Linked DNA regions of Homo sapiens: regions 1, 3 and 4 are each linked to region 2. The links are contacts of gene promoters, found by promoter capture Hi-C in blood cells and fetal thymus (Javierre and others, 2016). All regions are on one chromosome and are shown on one strand. Each heading gives the region's core, a stretch centred on a gene start or on the middle of the fragment in contact. The rest is flanking DNA. Distances are from core to core; before and after follow the strand shown. Region 1 holds the start of EGR1 (early growth response 1). Region 2 holds the start of SLC23A1 (solute carrier family 23 member 1). Region 3 holds the start of REEP2 (receptor accessory protein 2). Region 4 overlaps ETF1 (eukaryotic translation termination factor 1).

The links. Contacts are between HindIII fragments. The CHiCAGO score rates a contact against its expected background, and 5 or more counts as called.
Region 1: the fragment with the promoter of EGR1 here is called in contact with the fragment with the promoter of SLC23A1 in region 2 in 4 of 17 cell types (fetal thymus, activated CD4 T cells, monocytes and 1 more); the score reaches 7.6 in fetal thymus.
Region 3: the fragment with the promoter of REEP2 here is called in contact with the fragment with the promoter of SLC23A1 in region 2 in 4 of 17 cell types (monocytes, fetal thymus, activated CD4 T cells and 1 more); the score reaches 6.6 in monocytes.
Region 4: a contact is called between a fragment that was not itself captured here and the fragment with the promoter of SLC23A1 in region 2, in 1 of 17 cell types (naive CD8 T cells). The highest score is 5.7, in naive CD8 T cells.

What each region holds. Positions count from the first base shown.
Region 1 is chr5:138,461,498-138,468,886 of GRCh38, reverse strand. It overlaps EGR1 (early growth response 1), which reads right to left and starts at 3,408. Exons shown (of 2, transcript NM_001964.3): 1 at 2,819-3,408; 2 at 1-2,130. The coding sequence starts at 3,125. The coding sequence ends at 806. RefSeq lists silencers at 3,155-3,364, 3,455-3,804, 3,815-4,214, 4,535-4,804 and enhancers at 2,670-3,509, 3,510-4,350, 3,423-4,622. The HindIII fragment of the contact is 6,642 bases long and covers 1-5,819 here.
Region 2 is chr5:139,380,265-139,387,396 of GRCh38, reverse strand. SLC23A1 (solute carrier family 23 member 1) reads left to right here and starts at 4,100. Exons shown (of 15, transcript NM_005847.5): 1 at 4,100-4,179; 2 at 4,792-4,905; 3 at 5,348-5,505; 4 at 6,511-6,599; 5 at 6,765-6,832; 6 at 7,008-7,132. The coding sequence starts at 4,144. RefSeq lists enhancers at 660-779, 2,680-2,849, 3,230-3,399, 3,420-3,489, 5,090-5,139 and 1 more and a silencer at 4,740-4,799. The HindIII fragment of the contact is 5,308 bases long and covers 2,562-7,132 here.
Region 3 is chr5:138,433,425-138,440,313 of GRCh38, reverse strand. REEP2 (receptor accessory protein 2) reads right to left here and starts at 1,257. Exons shown (of 8, transcript NM_001271803.2): 1 at 1,074-1,257. The coding sequence starts at 1,105. KDM3B (lysine demethylase 3B) reads right to left here. Exons shown (of 24, transcript NM_016604.4): 24 at 3,287-4,694. The coding sequence ends at 4,614. RefSeq lists an enhancer at 91-624 and a silencer at 1,010-1,429. The HindIII fragment of the contact is 657 bases long and covers 996-1,652 here.
Region 4 is chr5:138,512,455-138,519,529 of GRCh38, reverse strand. ETF1 (eukaryotic translation termination factor 1) reads left to right here. Exons shown (of 11, transcript NM_004730.4): 3 at 663-838; 4 at 1,830-1,969; 5 at 5,824-5,962; 6 at 6,576-6,766. Among named protein-coding and RNA genes, the nearest start is that of ETF1, 27 kb to the left of the region's middle. The HindIII fragment of the contact is 182 bases long and covers 5,604-5,785 here.

The DNA of each region.
Region 1 (7,389 bases), core at 2,159-4,658, 920 kb after region 2:
GTCAAGCCATCAGCAAGGCGCATCACACAAAAGGCACCAAGACGTGAAACTTTTTAAACCAAAAGGACGAAGAAAAAACACTTTCAAAAAAAAAAAAAAAGAAAAACCAAACCATATTTTGCCACATGTGAGAGTACGGTCAAGCAGTATTTACAAAAAGGTTAACGGAACAACACTCTGACACATGCTCTGAGAATACTGGGACTGCTGTTTCAAAAAAAAAGGTTCAAACTTATTGTCACAGCATCATCACAAAATAGAGGATCACCATTGGTTTGCTTGGCTTTTCTTTTTTTTTTTTCCCCCAAGTGAGGACCTAACTCCAAATAATACAATAGAATATGCAAATTATCTTCACATCAAGAGTACCCCAAGAAAAACGAAATCCATGGCACAGACACTGTACAAGGGTGCAGGGCAGGGCTCTGAGGGGCCCAAACCCCATTTTGCCAACTCGATTTTCTAGCATTGAAGGGAGCAAGGGGTCAGGCATATGATGGAGATGATACTGAAATGATTTATCCAAAATCCATGCAAATCAAGTTCTTTGGATAGAGGTGAAGAACTTGGACATGGCTGTTTCAGGCAGCTGAAGTCAAAGGGAATAGTAATTGGGGAAGGGGAAGTGGGCAGAAAGGATTGTTGGCCAATAGACCTTCCACTCCAGTAGAGAGGGAGGACTTGGCTCTGAGAACCTCCATCTGACCTAAGAGGAACCCTCCTCTCCTATGGCCATCTCCTCCTCCTGTCCTTTAAGTCTCTTGTGTTTCTTTTTCTCCCTTTTCCCTTTCTTTCCCCTTTCCCTTTAGCAAATTTCAATTGTCCTGGGAGAAAAGGTTGCTGTCATGTCCGAAAGCCCTGTGGAGGCGCTGAAGGAGTTGGTGACAGCTGAGGAAGGGAAGCTGCTGACCTGGGCCGGGAAAGCAGGGGGAACAGAGGAGTACGTGGTGGCCACCGACGGGGAGGGGAAGCCACTGTGCACAGGGGATGGGTAGGTCGAGGAGCCGGGAGAGGAGAAGGAGGTGGGCACAGGGGATGGGTATGAGGTGGTGGCCGGGGATGGATAAGAGGTAGTAACCGGGGACGGGTAAGAGGTAGCAACCGGGGACGGGTAGGAAGAGAGAGAGGAGGTGGCCGAAGAGGCCACAACACTTTTGTCTGCTTTCTTGTCCTTCTGCCGCAAGTGGATCTTGGTATGCCTCTTGCGTTCATCGCTCCTGGCAAACTTTCTTCCACAGATGTCGCAGGCGAAGGGCTTTTCGCCTGTGTGGGTGCGGATGTGGGTGGTGAGGTGGTCGCTGCGGCTGAAGTTGCGCATGCAGATGCGGCACTGGAAGGGCTTCTGGCCTGTGTGGATGCGGATGTGGCGGGTGAGCTCGTCGGAGCGGGAGAAGCGGCGATCACAGGACTCCACTGGGCAAGCGTAAGGGCGTTCGTGGGGGGGCGTCTTGCTGGGCCGGTTGGGGTACTTGCGCATGCGGCTGGGTTTGATGAGCTGGGACTGGTAGCTGGTATTGAGGGCCTTCAGGTCCTGGGAGCCCGACTGAGTGGCAAAGGCCTTAATAGTAGACAGAGGGGTTAGCGAAGGCTGCTGGGTGCGGCTCTCCAGGCCCTGGAAGGGCTTCTGGTCTGGGGTGCCCAGGCCCAGATCCCCCTGCTGCTGTGGAAACAGGTAGTCGGGGATCATGGGAACCTGGAAGCCACCCTTGGCGGCAGGGTAGGCAGGAGGCGGGTACTGGAGCGCTGTCCCTGCCGAGCCCGGGAAGGCCTGGCTTTGTGGCTCAGGGAAAATGTCAGTGTTCGGCGTGGGGAAGGTGGGTGCCGCTGAGTAAATGGGACTGCTGTCGTTGGATGGCACTGCGCAGCTCAGGGGTGGGCTCTGGGAGGCGGAGGCGGAGGAGGCCGCTGGAGATGGTGCTGAGGACGAGGAGGCCGGTGGGTTGGTCATGCTCACTAGGCCACTGACCAAGCTGAAGAGGGGCTCGGGCCACAAGGTGTTGCCACTGTTGGGTGCAGGCTCCAGGGAAAAGCGGCCAGTATAGGTGATGGGGGGCAGTCGAGTGGTTTGGCTGGGGTAACTGGTCTCCACCAGCACCTTCTCGTTGTTCAGAGAGATGTCAGGAAAAGACTCTGGCAGGAGAGAGAGAAGCGGGAGGCCTGGTTACTGGAAAGCAATCACTGGAGGACGAGGACGACCCGAGCTGCCAGGCAAGAGACCGGGCCGGCTACCATTGACTCCCGAGGTAGTTAATAATTGATAGCAGCACATTGCAATGTTCCTGGACCCGCACCAGTGGCAGAGCCCATTTCAACAACAGCTGACGCAAATACGGAGAATCCCCCTCCACTGCAGCTCGCAGCGCTCCGCAGCGGCGGCTGTGCGGGCGAGGGATTCCCGCCAGCACCCCCATGGCCGCGGCTAGTGCGCGCCCCCAAACCCGGGCTGCCGGGACATCCACGGCCAAGGATCACGGTCCTTCCTTGGGGACAGGCGGCAAGCAAGGCAAGGCAAGTCTTACTGGAGGTGGGGGGCGCAGCCCCGCTCATCAAAACAAGCCCTCCCCCTCCACCCACCCACGCAGCTCCAGAGCTCTCCATCCAAAACAAAAGCTCGGTCCTCTGCGCTCCGCTAGGGATGAGGGCAGGGGGTGGGCTGTGTGGGGTTCCTTGGCATCCCTCTAACACATGACTCTGGGGATGCGAGGAATGAAAGGGAAACCCGGCTCTCATTCTAAGATCCAGGAGCACTCCTGCGGTGAAGGACAGGACGCCAGGATGGTGGCGAAAGGGTTCCCCCTCGGCGTAGGCCACTGCTTACCTGCGGTCAGGTGCTCGTAGGGCTGCTCGCCCGTGTCCGCCTGAGGGTTGAAGGTGCTGCTGCTGCTGCTGCTGTTGCTGCCGCCCCCGCCGCCTCCACCGCCCCCGCTGCTGCTGCTGCTGCTGTTGCTGCCGCTGCCCTCTGGGGCCCCGGCGGCGCCGAGGAACTGGGGAGCCCCGTTGCTCAGCAGCATCATCTCCTCCAGCTTAGGGTAGTTGTCCATGGTGGGCGAGTGAGGAAAGGATCCGAACGGGTCAGAGATCTGCAGCGGGGACATCAGCTGCATCTCGGCCTTGGCCGCGGCCATCCTGGACGAGCAGGCTGGAGAGCTGGTGTCGGGGCGGGGGGGTGCAGCCCGGGGCTGGAGCTGCAGGGGACACAGTTGCGGGGGCCTGGCCGGGTTACATGCGGGGCGCGGGGAACACTGAGAAGCGTGCAGGCGGCGACCCCGACTCGCCCTGGGCGCGGGCGGGCGTGGACGCGCCGCGGCTGCGGAGGCTGGGGCAGGGGCCGGTCCTGCGGCGGCGGAAGCTGGCTGCGGCGGCGGATGGCGGCGGCGGCTCCCCAAGTTCTGCGCGCTGGGATCTCTCGCGACTCCCCGGATCCGCCTCTATTTGAAGGGTCTGGAACGGCACGGGTCCGCCTCCGTCGTGACGTACATGGCCATATATGGGAAGCAGGAAGCCCTAATATGGCAGGACCGGCCGGGAGGACCCGGAGTGACGTGAAGCCCCCCATCCGACAGCGCCCGGCACCTCCATCCTGCACCCTAGGGCCCGCGCCCGCGCCCGCATCCCAGGCGCCCAGGCTTCGGGGAAGCCTAGAGCTCTAGCCGCCGCCGGGGCCTCCGGGACCCGCGCAGCTCCGGAGTTCCCGCGTTGCCCCTCCCTCCGCCTTCTTCCCTCCTCCCAGAGCCGGAAGCGGCCGGGCCATATCGGGCCACTCCAAATAAGGTGCTGCCCAAATAAGGGTTGTTCCGGCGGGGGATCCTTCCTGCTCCTTATATGGCATTTCCGGGTCGCAGCTGGTTGCTCCCTCGCTCCCTCCCTCCTCCCTGGTTCCAAGCCGGGAGCCCGAGCGCTCGCGGGATCCGGGGACGCCCAGGCGGGGAGGGCTCGTGGCGTGTGGCGCTGGGCGCGCGGCTGCTCAGGCGGCTCCTAGGCGTGAACTAGGCTGGGGAAGCCCAGACCCAGAGCGGGGGCGAGGGCGAGTCGGGCCGGGGTTCTATCGCTGTCATCCAGGGCCCGCCCGCCCACCTCAGGGACCGTGAGAGCGAACCGGGAGTGCGGGGGAGGAGCGGCTGGGCCCGCCTGGGCAGGGGCCGCCCAGGAGAGGCGGGGCCTTGACCCCGGGCCTCGATCTATGGCACGGTGTCTTTCCGGGTGTCGCTGGGAAATTGAGGATAGGAAGTCACGGCCACTTGGTTCTTGGGACACTGTATAGCAGTGAGCTGCCTTGCCTCTGCCACCTGTCGGTGGGATGGGGCTGCTGGTGCCTGGGGTCCCCTGTGCTCCCCCGGAACCGAAAGGCTGTTCCCTAGTCCCCGCCGGCAAAGAGCCCACCTTTGGGGGACCGAAGTGGGGAAGCTGATTGCCCCAAGAGAGGCCTGATTCTTGTTCTCACCAGGAGATAATGGTCCTTGTGGTGAGGGGTCACTTTCCCCCCTTTATCCAGTCCAGGTGGAGGGCCGGCCCACACTGCGGGAATCCGAAAGAGGGGCTTCCCTATGGGCTGTCTGGGGACCCCGGGCTGGGCGCGAAGAGAGGACCGGCTTGGCGGCTCGGTGCTGCCCCCTGGAGGTTCCCTCTCCACTCCCAGCCCCGGACTCCGGCCGCGCGGGCTCTTCCGCCGCCTCCTCGCTCCTCCTCCCGGATGCGGCGCTGGGCGCGGAGCCAGGCCGGGGGAGCCTTCGACGCAGTGAGCACGAACTGAGCAGGCGCTGCAGCCCGGGCTCCCCCTGCAGTCCCTGGGGAGCCGTCACTGCCGAGGCGCCCAGACTCCGGGATAACACTCCTCACCCCGAGCCTGGCCAAGGCGAGGGGGAGAAGGAAGCAGGGGGTGGGTGGTGGCGAGGGAGAACGATTCCCGCAGGTCTCCCTGGGGCCGAACGCGAACAGGGAAGCCCTCCCCGCCCCCACGACGCAGTCAGTTGCTCACCCCAAAGGGAACAGGGATTCCGGGAAGGGAAGGCTCCTCCTGCTCTAGCTCTGAATCCAGAGGAGGTGCTGTTTTTTCTGGATTTAAAAAGAAAGCAGAAAGAGAATGTGGGGAAGGAGGGTGCTTGACGACACCGAGAGGGAAGGGAGGAGGTGAGGGCCTCTGTGAACCCCAACAGCCTCTGGAGGTCGGGGTCAGGGGGATTAGGTGGGGGAGGGTGTAACTTTCTTGGACTTAATCCCTCTGTGGCTGTCCCCCCTCCAAACATGTTTTCTTATAAAAACCAACTTAATGAACCAGGACTCCCTCGTCTCGGAGCCTGCCGTCTCAAGTCCGCTGGGGAGGTGGGGGGCTCACTCCCACTGTCTACCGAGTTGTCCATTGGGGCAGGAGTGATGCGCCTCTCAGAGGACTCCTGCCGCAAGGGCAGGAAGGCCAGGCTGTTGCAGCGCAGATGGCCTTGTGTCTGAATGTCCATTTTGCCACTCCCTGGTAGGGTACCTTAGCCAAATTTTTTTTTTAATGTTTTTATTCTTTCTGAGACGGGGTCTCACGCTGGCACCCAGGTTGGAGTGCAGTGGCGCGAGCTCACTGCAACCTCCGCCTCCCAGGCTCAAGTGATCCTCCAGCCTCCTCCTCTCGAGTAGCTTGGACTACAGGTGCCTGCCACCACGCCTGGCTTTTACTTTTTTTTTTTTTTTTTTTTTTTGTATTTTCGTAGAGAGGGGTTTCGCTGTGTTGCCCAGGCTGGTCTTGAACTCTTGAGCTCAAGCGATTCACCCACTTCGGCCTCCCAAAGTGCTGGCATTCCAGGTGTGAGCCACAGCACCCAGCCAGCCAAGCTTTTTGTTTACTTGTTTGTTTTTGCTTTTTTTAAGACAGAGTCTCCCTGTGTCACCCAGGCTGGAGTGCAATGGGGCAATTTTGGCTCACTGCGACCTCCGCCTCCTGGGTTCAAGCTATTTTCCTGCCTCAGCCTCCCTAGTAGCTGGGACCACAGGTGCACCCCACCACACATGGCTAATTTTTGTATTTTTAGTAGAGACCAGGTTTCACCATGTTGGCCAGCCTGATCTTGAACTCCTGATCTCAGGTGATCCACCTACCTTGGCCTCCCAAAGTGCTGGTATTACAGGCGTGAGCCACCGTGCCCAGCCAGCCATGCTTTTTGTGTCTCACTTTCTTCAACTGTAAAATGGGGCTAATGTTAATAATACCCACATGGGGCCGGGCACAGTGGCTCATGCCTGTAATCCCAGCACTTTGGGAGGCCGAGGCAGGCGGATCATGAGATCAGGAGATCGAGACCATCCTGGCTAACACGGTGAAACCCCATCTCTACTAAAAATACAAAAAAATTAGCCGGGCGTGGTGGTGGCCACCTGTAGTCCCAGCTACTCCGGAGGCTGAGGCAGGAGAGTGGCGTGAACCCGGGAGGTGGAGCTTGCAGTGAGCCGAGATCACAACACTGCACTCAAGCCTGGGCGACAGAGTGAGACTCTGTCTCAAATAAATAAATAATAGTAATAATACCCACATGGGAGTATTGTTGTGAGGACTGAAACTTATGCGGGCTGCCATATGTCAAGTCCCAACACACAGTACCTGCCTTGCAATTGGCATTCAACAAACAGTGGCTATTGTTCTTTTCAGAGGCTTTGGATCCATAGAGTCATCCACAGTTCACCCACCCATCCTCAGCCTCCAAGAAAACTCCAGTGACCCTTTTCTGGAAAGCTGTGCAGATGGGGAAAAACATACCAATCCTATCACAGGGGACGTAATCCCTAAGAGTTGATCTGAACCCATCTTGCTGCAGTAGAGCGTTTACTAGAGCAGCATTTTTCAACCTTGACTGTGCAGCAGAATCGCCTGTGGAAGTCTGAAAAAGACAGCTTTTACCCTGGACCAGCTGCATCACAATCTTCCCGAGCTTGCGAGTGGCAGCACTGAGCCAAGGTATCGGCCTGGGATTCTTGTGCTGTCACTGGAGAGCCACCCAGACTGGGAGAGAACATCCTCTGCCCCAGCCAGGGCAAACCAGTTCCCCGATGATTCTCCTGTGCAGCTCACCTAACGTATTTGTCAGGTTCTTGCTGAAGCTCAGCATGGGAAATTCTCATAGTCTACGTCTACATCTTTTGTTTTGCATGACCAACATCAATTCCCCTTTCTTTTTATTACTATTCCCCAGCCAGCAGTTTCCTTTGGGGAGCCACCTTAATCCATGTGGTTGGGGGCAGATAGCCCCTACTCTACATCTATAAGTAGGTATGTTCCCTGGGCCTGGCCATCCACCCAGGGGTGGCCTAGCCTAGGAGTGGTTCATTTCCCTAGCTGTAGTGATTGAGTCAGGATGGGCACATGACCCAAACCAGGCCAATGAGAATCACTTTTTCCAGAACTCTTGGGAA
Region 2 (7,132 bases), core at 2,851-5,350:
TCCACCTCCCAGGTTCAGGCGATTCTCCCACCTCAGCCTCCTGAGTAGCTGGGATTACAGGCACCCACCATCATGCCCGGCTAATTTTTGTATTTTTAGTAGAGACGGGATTTCACCATGTTGGCCAGGCTGGTCTTGAACTCCTGACCTCAGGTGATCCGCTCGCCTTGGCTTCCCAAAGTGCTGAGATTACAGGCATGAGCCACCGCGCCCGGCCTTCAAAATGCTTTTTCTATTCTCTCACTCGACAACAGCACAGAAGATGGCTGTGACCGAATGCGTGGGGGCTTTCCCCCACACACCAGGCAAGCAATTCTGCAGCTGACACCAGCTGGGTGCCCTCCAAAATTCAATTCTGGCACTATCTACCTGGAGATAGTGTCAGATCCCACAGGCTGAGGGCTCAGTCCACCATTCTGTCCCCCATTCAGACACCAGTTCCAACTCCAGGCCTCTGGAGCTTCTGGCCTACTGGCTTCAAGATGAGGTTCCCACAACCCCCTCTTTTGAGTTCAACTAATTTGCTAGAGTGGTTCGCAGAGCTCAGAGAAACGTTTACCAGTTTATTATAAAGGATGTTACAAAGGATACAGATGCAGAGATGTGTAGGGCAAGGTATGGGGAATGGGCTCGGAGCTTCCATGCCCTCCATGGATGCAACACCGTCCAGGAACCTCCACGTGTTCAGCTATCCAGAAGATCTCTGAACCCTGCAATTTTGAGTTTCTGTGGATAATTCATTACGTAGGTATGATTCATTAAGCCATTGGCCATTGGCGAACAACTTACCCTCCAACCTGTCTGCCCTCCCTTGACTGGGGATGGGGGGTGAGGGGAGGCTGAAATCCTGCCTTGGTCTCTCTGGTGACCAGCCCCTGTCCTGAAGCTACCCTAGGGGCTGCCAGCCATCAGTCAATCATTAGCACACAAGAAGACATCATTTTGGGGATTCTAAGATTTTAGAAATTGTACTCCAGGAAACAGAGGTCAAAGACCAAATATATATTTCACAATATTACATCCCTCCTACAGAAGGCCAAATTTGCATCCCTACAACTTCCAGAGGTAAGAGGGAGCCATCAATGGTGTGGTGATGTAATCGCCCAAAGGGTTCACCTTGCTCAAGCCTAGACAGAGCCGATTGCTCAAGACAGGGGAATTGCAATAAAGACTAATTAACGCAGAGCTGGCTGTGCAGGAGACCAGCGTTTTACTATTACTCAAATCAGTCTCCCCAAGCATTCAGGGAGCAGAGTTTTTAAGGACAACTTGGTGGATGGCGGGGAAGCCAGTGAGCCAGGAGTGCTGATTGGTCAGGACTGAAATCATAGGGAGTTGAAGCTGTCTCCTTGCCTTGAGTCAGTTCCTAGGTGGAGGCCACAAGTCCCAACGAGCCAATTTATGGATCTGGGTGATGCCAGCTGATCTATCAAGTGCAGGGTCTGCAAAGTATCTCAAGCACTGATCTTAGGAGCAGTTTAGAGAGGGTCAGAATCTTGTAACCTCTAGCTGCATGACTCCTAAACCAAAATTTCTCATCTTGTGGCTAATGTTGCTCCATCCTACAAAGGCAATCTAGTCCTCAGGCAAGAAGGAGGTCTGCTTTGAGAAAGGGCTGTTATTGTCTTTGTTTTAGACTATAAACTAAAAACTAAGTTTCTCCCAAGGTTAGTTCAGCCTACACTCAGGAATGAAGAAAGACAACTTGGAGGTTAGAAGCAAGATGGAACTGATTAAGTTAGATCTCTTTCACTGTCTCAGTCATAATTTTGCAAAGGTGGTTTCAGTGACATCCCAGGTCTTCAGAGCCTTCATGAGAAAAGAGAACCAAGGAAAACTGTGCACGCAGGCCACCTTGTGGCACACCTATTCCAGCCACTCCATGCTATCTGCACCCCTCCGAGAACACACGTCTCACTGGGTCTACACCCAATGGCTGTTCATTTTCCACACTCTGCCTTTGACCCCAGCTGGTATGGATGGGCCCTGGGTTTCTGACCAGCCAGATTCAACATTTTGGTTCTCAGTCCTGCTTTCTCTGGAAATTCTTCTGGCTGGGGCTTTTCCTTAGTAAAGAAGCCCTGGACCCCACCTAGGTCTGGGAACTGGAGATCGGTGGCACCAGAACTTTCAGTTTCGTTTGTGAGTGTCTCTGATCTGGCCAAGCCCTGGGAGAGAGACAGAACATTCTAACCCTCATTTTTAGAAATATTTTTATTTTGCACGAGAGCCATGTGCAGGAAGACAATCTAATCCCCCTTTGACAGATGCAGAAACCGAAACTTAGACAACAGAAGGGGTTTGGGCCAAGTCCCTGGCTGAGTAGTAGTAGGGCTGGGAGGGGATTCAGACTTAGGGGACCGGAGAGGCGGGCTGCTGGGGGAATGGAGGTGCCTGGGGCAGGCCCTGGCCACTCCAGCTTCCCTGGGAGCTGCACTCAGCCCCCTCCATCCTTCACCTGTTCCAGGACCTGCCTGAAGCCCCACCATCCGTGGCCTTCACTCAGGAGAGAAACCCTAGACACCAGGAGGAAAGTCAGGGCCCAAGAAACCCACTAAGCTTTCAGGACAGGGTGTGGAGCCGGGCACCCATGACGTGGACCTGTGTTTCTGTGGGGTGATTAGAGAGGCTGCATCAGCTCTGGGTGTGTGGGCCCCTTCATGCTACTGTGGATCTGGGACCGTGTTCTCCACCTTGTTCTCTATGCGTGTTGTGTGGTTTGGGTTGAATTGAGTGTCCATGGAGCCGTATCTGCAGGGGGTCGGGCTTGGTCTCCACAGCACCCTGGGGAGTTCTGGGAGGAGAAGTTGGAGAGAAAAGTGCTGGGGAGTTGCAGAGGCTTCAAACTGGTCCAGCAACTTTGGAAATTGGGAGCAGTAGCCAAGAGGGAGAGGAGAGGACAGGCGGACAGAGGAACAGTGTGGACACCGGCAGGCGGGCGGACTCAGTGCTGTGGCATGAAGCTGCTGCCCAGCTGGAGAGCGGTGCTGCCCCTTGGCCCTTCAGGCAGGGCCTGGCCATGGGCACAGCGACCCAGAAGTAGGTGGGCTCTAGAGTGCTGGGGCTGGGGCAGCCCAGAGGGGAACAGAATGGGGACCTCAGGCCCAGCCCTCACCAGCTGAGGAGCCTGAGTTCTTAGGGCCCCTCCCCATGTCCCCCTCTGCCATCTCAGGCCCTAGGGCCAGGCTGGGCTGGGCCTGCCAGGAGGGGAGACAGGCTGGGCATAGGACTGCCTTCCTGGGCTAGGTGATGGGCAGTCACACAGGGCTTGGTGCATAGAAAGGCCCCACGCTCCATCTAATGCTCCTGCTATCTTTAAATTCTTTATACTTTTGGAATAAAGGCCTCACATTCTTACTTTGCACTGGGTCCCAGAAATTATGTGGCTGGGAGGGGAAAGGGATCTGTGCCCTGACACAGAGTGCAGACCCGGCTGGGCCAGCCTAGGCAGCTCTGCCTGCAGAGGCCCATCTGCTGCCTGCCTCAGGGACCCTGAGGGGTGCAGGGTGGTGAGGGCAAGGCAGCTCAGACCAACCTGAATTTTAGGATTGGTTTCTGCAAACTTGCTATCTGCATGGCTTGGGTCAAATCACATCTACTGAATCTGTTTCCTTCGCTGTTAAAGGGGTTAATACCGCCCAGCACAGGGGTTACTTGGGACAGTGCAGATCCATGTTTCTTGGCACAAGGCCAAGGCCATTCCTCAATAACGAGAATGACTATGATGATGATGATAATGATGAACTAGTTATTAATCAGTGGGGAAGGGCCTCATACAGGGGGTTACATAATAAGTGCCTGTTTCCACTCCCTCTTTCTCCGCTCACCTGGGGCTTGGTAAACTTCTGGTCCTCACCCCCTCGACTCTGGCCCTCTCTTGGGAAACAAGAACAGGTCCAGCGCCCAGGCGCAGATGTGGGCAGGGAAGGGCACATGTGGCAGAGGCTTGGGTGGCTTTTACTGTCCTAGTGAGAGTTAATACATTACCTCTGCCCGGGCCCCCCTTTCGCAATCCAGAGCTGGGCATCTGGTTACAGATTTACTTCAAACAATGCCTGATATGTGGAGTAAAGTCCTCCTCCTTGGCCTTTGTCAAGTCATCCCCTCTTCTCCTCAGGAACTGCTCAAACCTGTGCCCCAAAGATGAGGGCCCAGGAGGACCTCGAGGGCCGGACACAGGTGCTGGGGGCTGGGGGTGGGGGCTAGGGGGGGCAGGGGGGGTGGGGGGCTGGAGGGCCTGTGCAGGCCTTCTTCCTGGAGGCCAGAGATAAACGTTCTGATGAACTTGATAAGAGTGACTGTCCCAAATTGAATGTGGCAACTGGGGGATGGGTGGAGGTGGGGGTGAAGGAGCCTGCAGCTTTGGGACTGGCTGACTCCAGGTTGGGGTTCAGGAGAGGCCTAATCTCCCGGCCAGTGACACCCCAAGGATCTCCAGGGGGCAGAGGTGGGACCGGATTGGACTTGTCCACAGTCTTGAGCCCTCTTGGCCCCCTCTCCTGTGGTCTCCAAGACTTCTGACTTAAGGGTCCACTTCCCTGGCTAAAATGGCAGGTCCTGAGGGCTCTAGAAGCTGGCACAGTAGACTCATCCCTGCGGGAAGCAATGCAAAGTGGGAGAAAACTGTGGCCAGGCCAAGTGGCACCCGGGTGGATGGACTGTTGGGGAGGGCGGGAACCCCGCTCTCAGTTGCTGACAAGCCACTTGGGCTGCCTGATTGATTCTGGGGCAGAATGGATTTTGCCTGTCCCCATCACTTCACCCTAAGCTACTTATCTCTGCTGCCTCCAGCATGAAACCACCAGGGACCCCTCGACCCCGCTACCCACAGAGCCTAAGTTTGACATGTTGTACAAGATCGAGGACGTGCCACCTTGGTACCTGTGCATCCTGCTGGGCTTCCAGGTGGGTCCCCCAGGGCCTCCCCGCCCTCACTCTGCACACTCCCCGGGGACTCCAGCCCCTCCCTGGCCAGCAGGGAGTATCTTGGGTAACAGGAAGAAAAACCTGAGGTCAGCACAGTGGCTGTCAGCAAGCAGGAGTCGGGAAGAGGCTGAATCCTGAAAGAAGATGAACTCCCTGGGGGAGTGTGACGCTTGCCAGGTGGGGTGTTGGTGACAGGGAGCAGAGCCGACTCCACGGAAGCCGCAGGAATATCTTGAGTGGAAATTAGTGACCCCCAGAGTGGTCAGCAGTAGCTCTCTGGGAATCCCTTGTGGGGACTGCCAGTCCTGGGCAGGCAGCCGGTTCCAGGCCCGCTGAGGCAGGCATGAGGACACTAGGTTGTCCCCTCTCCCTGGAGCTCTGGGGTCCTGCCTCATGCACTCTGCTGTCTCCCTCTGCCCAGCACTACCTGACATGCTTCAGTGGTACCATCGCCGTGCCCTTCCTGCTGGCTGAGGCGCTGTGTGTGGGCCACGACCAGCACATGGTTAGTCAGCTCATCGGCACCATCTTCACGTGCGTGGGCATCACCACTCTCATCCAGACCACCGTGGGCATCCGGTGAGCCGCCCAGCCCCCCAACCCGTCCCCCGCCACCCCTCCACTGTGATCCACACAGCAGGAGCAGGTGGGCTCCCAGAGGACACTGGTGAGACAAAAAAGCCGCTTTCTGCCTCCACCTGCTTCTCCTATCCCAGGCCAGCCTTAGAGCTGGGCAGCGTGGCCCCAACCCTGGGAATCTTGATCTAGGCACACTTCAAAGACCAGGCATCTGCAAGTTTAAGGGATTGTACCCTCGCTGGCTCTCCCCTCTTTTTTTTTTTTTTTTTTTTTTTTTGGAGACGGAGTTTTGCTCTTGTTGCCTAGGCTGGATTGCGGTGGCGTGATCTCGGCTCACCACAACCACCACCTCCCGGGTTCAAGCGATTCTCCCGCGTTCAAGCGATTCTCCCACCTTAGCCTCCTGAGTAGCTGGGATTACAGGCATGCGCCACCATGCCCGGCTAATTTTGTATTTGTATCTGCCCACCTTGGCCTCCCAAAGTGCTGGGATTACAGGCGTGAGCCACCAAGCCTAGCCGGCTCTCCCCTCTTAAACCCCATTCTGAATATTGCCCAGATGGCAGCCCTGAGCTAGCTCCCAGGGTTGGTGCCAGCCTCTTCGACAGCCCACCCTCCCAGGGCCCCACGCTCCCGAGTGCACAGCCCTAGGCCTGGGTGGCATTTGAGCTGTTTGAGCAGCGGGGGACAGGGGAAGATTGTGAGAGAAACCTGGATGCGGGAACTGAGGTGTCCACTTCCGGGCAGGTGCCCCCTCCTCACAGTGCAGGAGCTGGTGGTGGGAAGGGGGCAGGTTTTGAGCTGGGGGCTCCATTTGTTTTCTTCCTTGGGCAGCCAAAATGTTAGAGATGGTCTTCCCTGGGGCCTCAACGATTTCCATCTGCCCTTGTCCCTTGTGTCTCTGTCACTCTCTCTGTGCTCTCCCTTCCTGATCTCTCCCCGCATCTTTATCCCTCCTCCCCACCCGCCCCTCCCCACCCCTGTTGCTTTGTGCCTCTCCTCCAGGCTGCCGCTGTTCCAGGCCAGTGCCTTTGCATTTCTGGTTCCAGCCAAAGCCATACTGGCTCTGGAGAGATGGAAATGCCCCCCGGAAGGTGGGTACACTTCTGGGGTCTGCACTGGGGAAAAGGGGAGGCCCAGAGACCTGGAGGTCTGAGCAACTGTCCCGGGTCAACACCAGGGTGCAGCCATGGCAGCATCTTCTCTCCCTCTCTGTCTCTGTACCTGGTCCGTGTGTGTATCCCTGACTCTACCCCCAGAGGAGATCTACGGTAACTGGAGTCTGCCCCTGAACACCTCTCATATTTGGCACCCACGGATACGGGAGGTGGGTTTGCATGTAAGCATAGAAGAGGCCGGGTCCTGAGGAGGGGCTATATGGGAGTGAGGGTGGCCGCTGAGTTTGGGGATTTGAGGAGGTGGTCCAGGAGCTTTGTTCCTGCTAGCAGCAGCCAGGTCATGACCTTTACATGGTGACTTACGGCTGATGTTTGCCCTTCCAGGTCCAGGGTGCAATCATGGTGTCCAGCGTGGTGGAGGTGGTGATTGGCCTGCTGGGGCTGCCTGGGGCCCTGCTCAACTACATTGGGCCTCTCACAGTCACCCCCACTGTCTCCCTCATTGGCCT
Region 3 (6,889 bases), core at 8-2,507, 940 kb after region 2:
AGGCCCCTCCATTCCCCCTGGGATGGGTGGGGGAAGAGAAGGAGTCTAGAGTAAACCAGGACAGAAGCACTTGGCCGGCCCGGCTGTACCGAATGGGAAGAAGGGAGCAGGGTGGGGCTGCCGGTGTCAGTCCCCAACGGTGGAGGCCGAGGGGCAGTGTCCTCATTAGGGCAGGGGATAGCTCCGAGAACCACGAGGAGCCCCTGTCAGGCTCAGCCCCTTGACAATGTGTGGCTGTCGCCTGTTTCCACATGGACAGGAGGGATACTTCCAAACCGGCTGGTGCAAGTGGAGTGCGGAGCAGAATCCTCAAGGACAAAGTCTGGGCTCGTGGGGAATGGTGTGTGTTCCCTCCTGGGGCCCGGGGAGGTGCCAGAGACACAGCTCCACAGTGTGGCTGGCAGCCTGGAATGAAGGCCACGGAGCGTCCTCCCCCAGCGGGGTCCACAATCCCAGGCTGAGCACACACATCCCCTCTCCCAGTTACCTCTCACACTTTGTCCTCCGAGCATTTCTGCTTCCCGATACCCAGACTTCCTCCCTAGGGGGCCTAAGGGCATATGCCCTCGTCCCCAGTCTCCTGACAGTGAGTGGAAGGGAGAGACCAAGGGGCCTGGTGATGGCTCTGAGCTGCGGAATGATGATGAGGCCCTGCCTTGCTCCACTCTCTTCCATCACCCTGTTACCTCCCCCAGAGGGACAGGGCCCGGGTCTGAGGATCTCCTCCAGCCCAGACCTGCTAGGTGGGGGAGGGGACGCGCCTGCCTCCCCTTTTAAATCAAGCCGTGCTGCTCAGCCTCTAGGATGGGCGCAGGAGCAAGGACGGTAGAAATAAAAGAGGTTATTAATAAAGAATGTGGGTGAGGTCCCTGGGAAGCCAGGCCTGCCACGCTCCCCTAATATTCCCCCCTCCAGTCCTGGGTGCCACATCTCCATGTCTCTGGGGGCCCCAAATAAGGACGCAGCGCCTTTAGGTGACTCTGCTGCACGAAGCTTCGGAGAAGTCCACCCGGGCTTTAACACCCCCGCCCTCCATCACAGCCCGCATCACCCCCCGCCGCCGCCGCACTCACACCACCAGGCGAGAGATGATCCAGGACACCATGGCGGGGCCGGGCGCGGCGCGGGGCGGGGACCCGGCCCGGCCGAGGATGCAGCTGCCTGAGGCCGAGCGGCGGCGGCGGCGGCAGCAGGAGCCGCAGTAGCAGCAGCAGCCGCTGCAGCAGCCGCCGCGGGGGCAGCGGAGCGCCCAGCGCCGCCGTTAAAGGGGAGGTCCCTGCCGCAGCGGCGGGCCGTGGGCGGTGGCGGCTCTTAAAGGGGAGGCCGGGAGGCCGCCGCGGCGGCGGCGGCGCGCCCCCGCCCCGGCACCTGCTGTGGCCGGGCATGCGCCTCCGACCCTCAGTGCCCTGCCTTCCTCGAATCGCTTGTTCATCTTTCTTGGGTTTCAAGCCCTAGGCTGTTGTCGTGGAGGTCTCCATGGTTACATCCTGAAATCGACCCCTGCCCACCTCCTGCCCTGCCCACACCAGGCGCTTACTGTGTGCCAGCCCCTGTGCTAAGAGCTTCACTGCGTTGCCAGTGAATCCTCTTGACCACCCTATAAGGCAGGCGCTATAAAAGCCCTCATTTTGAAGATAAGGGAATGAGAAGCTTAAGGCTCAATAATCTGTTGAGAGTCACAAAGCCACCAAGTCATGCTGCTAAGATGACCCCAGGAAGCCTACTTTAAACAGGTTACATCCCCCAACTGCTGACTAGCAAACTCTCCTCATTACAGGCCCTGAAGACATCCACCTGAGCTCCTGAGTCACAGGTACAGCCGCACCTGTCCACCCCACTCCTTCTCACCCCGTTGAAAGAGGATCTCCCCTGACCAGATGATGTTTTGTTTTTTTGAGACAGGTCCTCACTCTGTCGCTCAGGCTGGAGTGCAGTGGCACAATCTCAGCACACCTCCTGGGCTTGAATGATCCTCCCGCCTCAGCCTCCCGAGTAGCTGGGACTACAGGCCCAAAACACCACCAGCTAATTCCTGTTTTTTTGTTTTTTGTTTTTTTTTGCCAAGATGGGGTTTTGCAATATTGCCCAGGCTGATCTCCAACTCCTGAGCTCAAGCGATCCACCCGCCTCAGCCTCCCAAAGTGCTGGGATCACTGGTGTGAGCCACCGGGCTGCTGGTCTGCTTTTTTAGGTTGTCAGCTCCTAAGCTTTGCAGCGGAACAGAGCTTTATGCTCTCAATGTGGTTACTGACAACAAAGGGTCAACCTTCTTTTCAAACAGAGGGGCTGCGAGAGGGTCCTGGGGCTCCAGTTCCACCCCCATCAGCAAGCACTAGTGGCAGTGAATGTCCTGATTCTAAAGACATTTATATCCAGAATGTAGGCTAGCCTGCCTCCTGATCTTCAGGAAAGCAACCAACCTCCAACCATCCACCAACACCCCCAGCCCTATTGCTCTCCTTTCCTGTCCCATTTTAGAGCTTCTGCATTCCTCTACCCTTTATGTTGAGTTGTAATCCTTCGGGTGACCACAGCATCAACCTGTGCCCATCTGGGCTGAAAGGACACATTCAGAACTGTGTATTTCAAAGAGTCATGGTCTTATTCAAGCTCAGTATCCCTGAACAACACAATGGTCTATTTCTAACCTGGTAAATTATATTTCCAGGTTCAAACACTTTGGAAGATGTTTCCCAAAACGTTCCAGAAAAGCAGCCTCTGATAACCCCTCTTGCTATTCTTTACAACTTCCTCTCCAGAAAACATCTCCTAATTGGAATGCAGTCTGTTATCACCCCACAATGAAACACTTTAATTACTGCTTGATAAATCCCACATGAGTGTCTCCCACCATCTCTAAGGTGGATCTATGGCCACACGTTTCATGTAGGCAGCCAGGCTGCCTGCTTAAGAATCCCACCACAGACTGTCCAACTTTGCTGAGGCCACACACCATGACCCTTCCCCCCAGACTCTGCCACAGGAAGGGAGGACCCCAACTTTCCCACTCCATTCACAAAGCATAAAGTATGGGGAAACATGTCTCTCTTTCTACCCTCTAATTCATGTGGCCCCTTCCCCTTACCCCCAATTCCCCAAACCATACTGACCTCACCCTGGCACTTTCCTTTTTTCTAACATGGCACAGTCTCAACAAGCAAAGAAAAATATCTGGGTGTAGCACAGTCATGAAGACCTGGAAATGAATCCCCCACCTCCAACCCAACTCCCAATCTGATGTTGATTTTAGAAGGGTTGGTACACGAATAATTTAGTCCACTCCAAACAGATTTGTTAGATTTTTAATAAGAACATGGAAATCCCAATCAGCCCTTCAACAAAATTAAAATACAGAAAGTGAAATTAAAAGTATTCTACATTAAATGACTTTTATTTAAAAAAAAAAAAAAAAGTAACTGTGAACATATAAACAGCCTGCAGGGCACTACAGTACAGCTGGAGAGATATACATTTTCCAATGTACCTATGGGCCAATGAATCCCACCATTTTCAAATAAATCCTTAATCAGACTCCACTCAGTTGGAAAGTTTTGCTGAAAATATTTCTGGATAAAAAACAAAAAACCTCATGTTGGAAATCAACTGTCCTTCCCATTTGGAAACATTAAGAGGAGTCCCCAGGGAACACTGGTAATAGGTGAAAATGGTTCCTGGAGTCACCAGTGTTGTACACACACATGGGGAACACACCACAGCTTAGATGTGACAAAGTTCCTTCTCATATGACTGTTCCCTCAAGGTAAGACTAAGATGGGAGGGGGAGAAAAAGAATCCTAAAAAAGCCAATTTTTAAAAATTCTGCTTTGGCTGATTTTGTGCTATAATGGGTAGCTGATTTCTAAAAATCATATTTCTTCAAAGAGTTTTATATCGAAAGGAAGACTAAATGTAATGTGCCTTTCCTTATAATCCAGGAAAACAACTGTGGTATTTCAAAAATTCTAAAAATATCTACTTTCATGAAATAGTAACTATTTCACTACAAACCTATTTTTCACTAAATACACACATTTCCTAATCCTGGAGCCTCCTGGGAAAAGCAGTGGGTTCTCCCTGGGTCTTGCAAGACTCCAGTGTTCACAGGAGAGTGTGGGGAATAGCTTCACCCCGTCTCCTGGGATGGGCTTTGTCAGAGGTCACGTGCAGAGACGCTATCAGACTTCCACCAGGCATGTTTAAGCAATTACCCCATACTTGTACCAGTTATGTGATTTCCCCTATCTCCAAACACATTTCCACTTAACTAGGCACAAGAGGAAAAGAAAAGAAAGGTGTGCCCGTGAATCTCAAATCAGGAGAATGTGCAGGAAAGCCCCGCCATGTTCAGGCAATTTGGATTTCCAAAAGGCCACAGGATAGGGATGTGGCACTCTTGGCTTGGAGTCTCAAACTGTGTGTGTGAACAGTACGACTTTCCTGTGTCAACCTTCAGTGTTGAGGCAGCGTAGAAGAGAGTGGCTGGAGAGTTTGGAATACTGACCACACTGGCTCTGGGTGAAGGGCCTCTGCTCCAGCAAAGAGCCCTGCCGTTCCCTGTTAAGTGTTGTGAGTGAAAGACCTGCTTCACAGAGGAGCTTGGAGTTTCTCCATGCCTAGGACCTTGCCAGTTTGGATTCATGAGCCTTGAGGGTGCCAACCGCATCTTTCACTGCATGGTAAATGATGTTCTTCACCTAGAGAAGGTGTACAGCAAAGTCAGTTCACAGCAGCCCCATGCAAATGTACGTTCTACCTTGACTGTAAGCCTACTGGTTTAGTGGGGAAACTCCCAAAAAGGACTGTGCGTTCCTGTATCAATCCCCACAGTCATTTACAAATCACATAGGGCATGAGGTGTGTACTCAAAAAAGAATAATGAAGTTATGTGAAAGGCCATCTGATCACCATCATTTATGTGCTTACTATGTCCTGGGCAGGCGCTGCTGCTGAGCTCTTTATGTGGACCTTTGCTTAATCCTTGACAGAATCCTATGAGGTAGGTTCTATTATTATCATGCCCAATTTACAGAGGAGAAACTGCGGAAACTAAGGCCACAGTGAACACCTGGAGAACTTTGTTTCCTTATATGGTTAAGAGGCTTCCTTAAGGTTCTACAGCTAATAAGGATGCATTAAAACAAGAGGGGAAAGCAGGATTATGGCCTATTTTTTCCCTTCGTGCTTATATGTTTTCTGATTTGGATATATTACCTGTGAAATTGGAACACACAATAAAAGTTATTGAAAAAAGTGAACAGGCATATTAAGGTGAAGAGAATAAAGACAGCTTTCTTTTAAAGGGCTGACAAGAAAACTGAGGTTATTTCTGGGGAGGAAAAGCGGGGAAATGCAAAGGGGAAGGGTACATGGGGGCTTCAACCATGTAGTTGCTGTATATGTATGTGTGCTATAATTTCTTAAGCTGGGTCATGGGCATCCAAGTCCTTCTTTTACTATTCTCCATTAATTTTTTTGCATTGCTTCAACAAAGATTTATGAATACCTACTATGTGTCAGACATTGTGCTAAGGAAAAGCAGTGAGTAAAATGTAAAATTCCTGCCTTCACAGAGCTTAAATAGCTTACATTCTAGTAGGGTTAAGTAACAGATTAAAAAAATATATCTATATCTGTATCTATAGCTATATCTCAGATGGTGAAAATACTACAGGAAAAATAAAGTAGTGAAAGTGGGACTGGTAGTGCTGGAGCAGGAGTTGTTATTCTAAACAGGGTAGTCAGGAAAGGTCTTTTTTTTTTTTTTTTGAGATGGAGTCTAACACTGTTGCCCACGCTGGAGTGCAGTGGCGCCATCTCAGCTCACTGCAACCTCCGCCTCCTGGGTTCAAGCGATTCTCCAGCCTCAGCCTCCCAAGTAGCTGGGACTACAGGCGCCCACCACCATGCCTGGCTAATTTTTGTATTTTTAGTAGAGACGGGGTTTCGCCATATTGGCCAGGCTGGTCTCGAACTCCTGACCTTGTGATCTGCCCACCTCGGCCTCCCAAAGTGTTGGGATTACAGGCGTGAGCCACCGCGCCCAGCCTGTTGTTTTTAAATAAAGAGACAGAGTCTGTTGCCCAGGCTGGAGTGTAGTGGGGTGATCATAGGTCACGAGAGCTTCAAAACTCCTGGGCTCAAGTAATCCTCCCACCTCAGCCTCCTGAGTGGCTGGGACTGCAGAAACACACCCAACATCCCTAGCTCGGGAAAGGTGTTATGGATAAGGTGACATGTTACCTTTATATTCTCATTCTATGTAAACACCAATGTTGGACGGGCACGGTGACTCACGCCTGTAATCTCAGCATTTTGGGAAGCCGAGGCAGGTGGATCACCTGAGGTCGGGAGTTCAAGACCAGCCTGGCCAACATGGTGAAACCCTGTCTCTACTAAAAATACAAAAATTAGCTCGGTGTGATGACACGTGCCTGTAATCCCCAGATACTCGGGAGGCTGAGGCAGGAGAATCGCTTGAACCCAGGAGGCAGAGGCTGCAGTGAGGCAAGATCACGCCACTGCCCTCCAGCGTGGGCAACGGAGCGGGACTCCATCTCAATAAACAAACACCAACGTTGATTATACTTTGTATAAAAACTATGGTTGGCTGGGTGCAGTGGCTCACTCCTGTAATTCCAGCGCTTTGGGAGGTGGAGGCGGGCAGATCACCTGAGGTCGGGAGTTCGAGACCAGCCTTGCCAAAATGGTGAAACCACGTCTCTACCAAAAAATACAAAAATTATCTGGGTATGGTGGTGCATGCCTGCAATCCCAGCTACATGGGAGGCTGAGGCAGGAGAATCACTTAAACCCAGGAGACGAAGGATGCAGTTGAGCCAAGATCACACCATTGCACTTTCATTTGGGTGACAGAGTGAGACTGTCTCAA
Region 4 (7,075 bases), core at 4,445-6,944, 870 kb after region 2:
CACCATGCCCAGCGAATTTTTTTTTTTTTTAATTGAGACGAGGTTTCACTCTGTTGGCCAGGCTTGCCTCGAACTCCTGACCTTGTGATCCGCCCGCCTCGGCCTCCCAAAGTGCTGGGATTATAAGCGTGAGCCATCGTGCCCGGCCGAGAGAGAGAGATTTCATAACTGGGACATTTCTGTGACTTCCACAGTTCTCCTTTCCCATCATTAGAATACTAAATTCTTGATTACAAATATGCCTAGACTTTGGAAAGACTCATTGCATCATCCTGTCATGGCGTCTCCCACTCAACCACCACATTTGAAGGCTCTCCCACGGACAGATTCACTACCAAATTCCAGCCTGTTGACACTCCTTATTTATCATAGATAGCTTCTTTCTTTAGGAAATGAGGTGTTTCTCAAGTATCTCTCCAAGTGTATTCTTTACATAACTTACCTCACTATTCAATCAAATTGAGCACTAGATTCTGAACACTGTTCCTAACTCTGTGTATACGTTCATAAACAAGACTAATATAGTCCCTACATTACTCCTTTGAGAGTGACCTGTTTCCATAACTTTGGGGCATCTCCCTGTAGCTTGCTTTTACCAGAGAGAAACATGAGTTTACTTACATGATATTTAAATCCCTAATGAGTTATTCTTTCTTCCACAGCAATGGCACCAGCATGATATCATTGATCATTCCTCCCAAAGACCAGATTTCACGAGTGGCAAAAATGTTAGCGGATGAGTTTGGAACTGCATCTAACATTAAGTCACGAGTAAACCGCCTTTCAGTCCTGGGAGCCATTACATCTGTACAACAAAGACTCAAACTTTATAACAAAGGTAATCTGGAGTTTGCTCCTTTTCCTTCTCTACACATTTTGGTTATGTTTTATACTGTGATGCTGCTATGGTGCTTTGTTCACTAATGTTCCCTTAAGTCGGCTGTCATCAGTGTCTCTTTGGCCTTGGTGGTTAGCTTTTTTGTTTTGTTTTGTTTTTTGTTTATTGAAAGTTAAGTAGGCCAGGCACAGTGGCTCATGCCTGTAATCCCAGCACTTTGGGAAGCTGAGGCAGGTGGATCACTTGAGGTCAGGAGTTCGAGACCAGCCTGGACAACATGGTGTGAAACCCTGTCTCTACAAAAAATACAAAAGTTAGCCAGGCCTGGTGGCACACACCTGTAGTCCCATCTACTCTGGAGGCTGAGGCGAGAGAATCAACTGGACCCGGGAGGTGGGAGTTGCAGTGAGCCACGATCTCGCTGCTGCACACTAGCCTGAGTGACAGAGTGAGGCGTTGTCTCAATTTTTTTTTTTTTTTTTTTTTTTGGGATGAGACAGAGTCTTGCTCTGTCACCCAGAGACTGAAGTGCAGTAATCCGATCTCAGCTCACCACAAGCCTCCCAGGTTGAAGTGATTCTTCCGTCTCAGCCTCTCGAGTAGCTGGGACTACAGGTGCCCATCACCACGCCTGGCTACTTTTTGTATTTTTCGTAGAGATGGGGTTTCACCATGTTGGCCAGGTTGGTCTTGAATTCCTGACGTCAGGTGATCCGCCTACCTCGGCCTCCCAGAGTGCTGGGATTACAGGCGTGAGCCACCACCACGTCCAGCCTGTTTACTTTAAAGAATAAATCGTACTGAAACGTCTCAGAAGAAGTTTTAAAATTAGGGAGAGAGTTCTGCCTGAGAGATTTCAAGCTTTTTCTGCTTTATTTAAATTATGACTTAAAGGATCAGGCAGGGAAAATAGGCTATGGGAACATTTTCTATTAATTGACGAAAAACTAGATATGGGGTAAAGTAGAAAAATTGTTTGTGTTCTTTGCAGTACCTCCAAATGGTCTGGTTGTATACTGTGGAACAATTGTAACAGAAGAAGGAAAGGAAAAGAAAGTCAACATTGACTTTGAACCTTTCAAACCAATTAATACGTCATTGTATTTGTGTGACAACAAATTCCATACAGAGGTAAGAAGTCAAACCCAGAACATTTTCATCGCTCCAGAATTCTTTCCCCGTACCCATTAGCAGTCAGTCCCCCATCCCTCCCACTTACCTGTCTCATTCTAGGCAACCACTATATTTTCTTTCCATAGATATGCTTGTGCTGTACTTCTTTTATTTTTATTTTTTTATTTTTATTTTTTTATTTTTTTTTTAGACGGAGTCTCGCTCTGTCTCCCAGGCTGGAGTGCAGTGGTATGATCTCGGCTCACTGCAAGCTCCGCCTCCCAGATTCAAGGGATTCTCCTGTCTCAGCCTCCTGAGTAGCTGGGATTGCAGGCACATGCCACCACACCCAGCTAATTTTTTTGTATTTTTAGTAGAGATGGTGTTTAAACACATTGGTCAGGCTGGTCTCAGACTCCTGACCTCGTGATCCACCCACCTTAGCCTCCCAAAGTACTAGGATTACAGGCATGAGCAACCCCGCCCAGCCTGGACATTTTATATAATGGAATCATATAGTTTGTGGCCTTTTGTGACTGGCTTCTTTTACTTTATACTTTTAAGGTTCCATGTGGTAGCATTCATCAGTACATTTCATCCCTTTTGATTACCAAGTAGTATTCCATTGTATACCTATATGCCATATTTCATATTTTATATAGCTTCTCGTTTCATCAGTTTTACATTTGAGTGGTTTGCACTGTTTGGCTGTTCTGAATAATGCTGCTGTGAACATTCATGGACAAGTTTCTATGTGACCATACATTTTCATGTTTCTTAGATTTGTGGAATCGTGTAGGTTATATAGTAATTATGTTTAACTTTTTAAGAAGTTGCTAGACTGTTTTCCAAACCGTTGTACCATTTTACAAAGCTGTCTGTTTTCAAAAAGTAAGGCAATTTACATTTATTATGACACTAGTCATTCAGCATGTTTTGAGACAGAGTCTCACACTGTCGCCCAGGCTAGAGTGCAGTGGTGCAATCTTGGCCCACTGCAACCTCCATCTCCATGGTTCAAGCGATTCTTGTGCCTCAAGCCTCCTGAATAACTGGGATTACAGGTGTGCACCACCATGCCTGGCTAATTTTTTGTGTTTTTTTAGTAGAGACAGAGTTTTGCCATGTTGGCCAGGCCTGTCCCAAACTCCTGGCCTCAAGTGATCTGCTCGCTTCAGCCTCCCAAAGTGTGTGTGTGTGTGTGTGTTTTGATTTTTGTGGGTACATAGTAGGTGTATATGGGGTACATGAGATGTTTTGATACAGGCATGCAATGTGAGCTATCACACTATGGAAAATAGGGTACCCATTTCCTCAAGCGTATATCCATTGTGTTACAAGCAGTCCAGTTATACTCTTTGAGTTATTGCACTCAGTTTTCACATAACAATTGTAAAATTTTTAGTAGCAGAACTGTAAGAACTCATTTTCCCCCCTTTCCCCTGAAACTTTTGAGTGACAAAGCTGCCATAGGATGAACTTGAACAGTGGAAAGGAAACCTCATTAGAGTGACCTAAATCAGTCAACAGTAGAACAATCAAGAATTCACAGCTGGCTCCTTAGTTCATTCTCTTGCCTTTCATCAACCTAGGGAAAAACCTCTACAGTGGAATTAGAACTGACATTTGTCGACAGTTTACAGTGGATGATTTTTGCTAACTTGATGGGAAGTCCATTTATAGTTGGATCTTGGTCGACTGCATAGACAATCCAGACTGTTTTTCTCTTCACTACCACACTCTACTTACAGCAGAGGGTTTTTCAGGGAGCCTCTCAGCCACTGAAACCACTTACCTGTATCTGGTTGGATGAAAGCCGATTTTGAATCTTGTTGATTTAAACAGTGCCAGGTACCCATGTTGTCTGGCTTTTGCTCACTTACTGAGTTAGCCTTGTTGGCTTTTTTCCAAACCTTAACTCCTTTTCTAAGATACTGTTTAATCTTGCTAACTTTGTACATTTTAGCTTTAACTGAGAGGGTTATATCCTGTTTATCAGGGTAATTATATATTCTAATAAGGGATATGCCTATTCCCTGATAAGCAGATTTATTAAAAACTTCAATCTACCTAACGGGTCATTTTGATAAGGCTATATTATTAACGTGCAATATTCATATTCATGTCTTTTTTCTTTTTCTTTTTCTTTTTTCTGAGATTGAGTTTTGCTCTGTTGCCCAGGCTGGAGTGCAATGGCACGATCTCGGCTCCTTGCAACTTCCACCTCCCGAATTCAAGTGATTGTCCTGCCTCAGCCTCCTGAGTAGCTGGGATTACAAGTGTGCACCACCACGCCCAACTAATTTTTGTATTTTTAGTAGATGAGATTTCACCATGTTGGCTAGGCTGGTCTGAAACTCCTGACCTCGAGTGATCCACCCACCTTGGCCTCTCAAAGTGCCATTGCAGGCATGAGCCACCACGCCCGGCCACAATATTCATGTCTTAATGCCAACTATCTAGCATGGTTTGTTAAAGATGGATTCTTAGTTGATCCATCTGCTTTCTAGTCAATTATTGAAGGGGCTATTTTCTTAAAATGGAATGGTAAGGCCAGGTGTTGTGGCTCACACCTATGTAATCCCAGCACTTTGGGAGGCCAAAGAGGAGGATCAGTTTATAAAAATAAAATGGAATGGGTAACAATTTCTTACTTCCAAAGAGATTGTCCCCTGGCAATTAGAGATCAACTAAGTGTGTAGTATTCCGATTCCACTGTGAGAACTCTTATCTATGTATGTCCCAGGACTGTTTCAATATTTTCTCTTTGGGAAGGCATAAAGGGATATAAAGTTAACATAGAAGGAAGGTTTTCCTCATAAAACTCAGAATCATTAGCTGCAATACCTTTAAAGACATGCTGGCTCATGCCTGTAACCCCGGCACTTTGGGAGGCTAAGGCAGAAGGATCATTTGAGTCCAAGACTTCGAGGCTGCAGTGAGCTATGATGGCTACTGCACTCCAGCCTGGCCAGCAAAGTGAGACCCTGTCTCAAAAAAAAAAAAAAAAGGAACAAGTTAAAGTTTTTTTGTTTTTTGAGACAAGGTCTCTGGATCACCCAGGCTGGAGTACACTGGCACAATCTTGGCTCACTGCAACCTACACCTCCCAGACTAAAGCCTTTCCAAGTAGCTGGTAGGGACTACAGGCACGTGTCACCACAGCCACCTAATTTTTGTATTTTTTTGTAGAGACAGTGTTTCGCTATGTTGCCCAGGCCAGTCTCAAACTCCTGAGCTCAAGCCATCTGCCTGCCACAGCCTCCCATAGTGCTGGGATTACATGTGTGAGCCATCATACCCAGCTTAGAACTCTATATTATAAAACTGAAACTGTATCCATTGAGCAATAATTCCTTGTTCCCCCTTTTTTCCAGCCCCTGGCAACCACCATTTGACTTTTTGTCTCTGATTTTGATTACTCCAGGAACCTCATATAAGTGGAGTCATACAGTATTTGTCCTTTTTTGACAGGGTTATTTCACTTAGCATGTATTCAAGTTTCATCCCTGTTGTAGTGTGTTTCAAAATTTTCTTCCTTTTTGAGATTGAGTAGTATTAACTGCTGTATGTAATATTGCTATAAACATGGGCATACAGATATCTTTCTGGTTTTATATTTACATGCCCATGTCAAATGTGTTGAAAAGCTTCACATAGATATCATTCGTTATTTCCTTATTGGGTTCAAATTTGTCCATAAGAGTTACATGTTTATAACTGAAGTCTATAAATTATTCCGTAGAAGGTTTTCCCACAGTGCTAATAGCATGGTGAGTGGAGTGAAAGGGCTTGTATATATCCTTTCAGAGTTTTTTTGACCTTAGCAAAGCTTTGGGATTCACCGTGTGGTACTTGTGTTTGCTTTTCAGGCTCTTACAGCACTACTTTCAGATGATAGCAAGTTTGGATTCATTGTAATAGATGGTAGTGGTGCACTTTTTGGCACACTCCAAGGAAACACAAGAGAAGTCCTGCACAAATTCACTGTGGATCTCCCAAAGAAACACGGTAATACAGGAGGAGAACATGAACCCACTTACTTTGTGTCTAGCAATAAGAAAACAGTATGGTGGGCCGGGTGCGGTGGCTCACGCCTGTAATCCCAGCACTTTGGGAGGCCGAGCCGGGTGGATCACGAAGTCAGAAGTTCGAGACCAGCCCGGCCCTGTCTCTACTAAAAATACAAAAATGTGACGGGCGCCTGTAATCCCAGCTACTTGTGAGGCTGAGGCAGGAGAATTGCTTGAACCCGGGAGACGGAGGTTGCATTGAGCCAAGATTGCGCCACTGCACTCCAGTCTGGGCGACAGAGTGAGACTCTGTCTCAAAAAAGAGAGAGAGAGAAAACAGTATGATGTGAGGGGAGTGAATCCAGATGATGGGGAGAGAAGCCTCCTGTAATGACTGGTGCCTCATTGGTACTTACAGCTCCTCTCTTGACATAGACTTAGTAGTCGCTCTCTGAAAACAAGTAGCAGTTTATGCTGAACGTTTAGTTAAGGGAATGGTGATTTTTCTTTGTCCTTTTCTTAGATGATGACATGATTATTTTATTTTTAATTTGAAGACATCTTGTAGTTCTTAATAATTGCCTTTTTCTCTTGCTACTTTTGTGTCAAAGGTAGAGGAGGTCAGTCAGCCTTGCGTTTTGCCCGTTTAAGAATGGAAAAGCGACATAACTATGTTCGGAAAGTAGCAGAGACTGCTGTGCAGCTGTTTATTTCTGGGGACAAAGTGAATGTGGCTGGTCTAGTTTTAGCTGGATCCGCTGACTTTAAAACTGAACTAAGTCAATCTGATATGTTTGATCAGGTAAGTAAGAAGTAGATGCTTTATTATGTAAGACCCTAGGTAGGAGTAGGTGAGTCCTCTGTGTGAGCACTGGAACAGACACATCTTTTTAAAATTCCTTGGGTTAAAAACTTGCCTCTGAGTTAAACAGCAGGTTTACAGATGTTTATCAGGAAACATTCCCCTGTGCTTTTCTGAACCCCTTCTCTTCTGAAATCAACCATTTTTAGGTGGGCTTCTTATGGATCCTGTGGAGGTTCCTTGTTTAGTTGGGTTGTCAGAATTGGCTGTAGAATGGAGTTTGATTTCAAAGAAACTAAAACCTGTTCC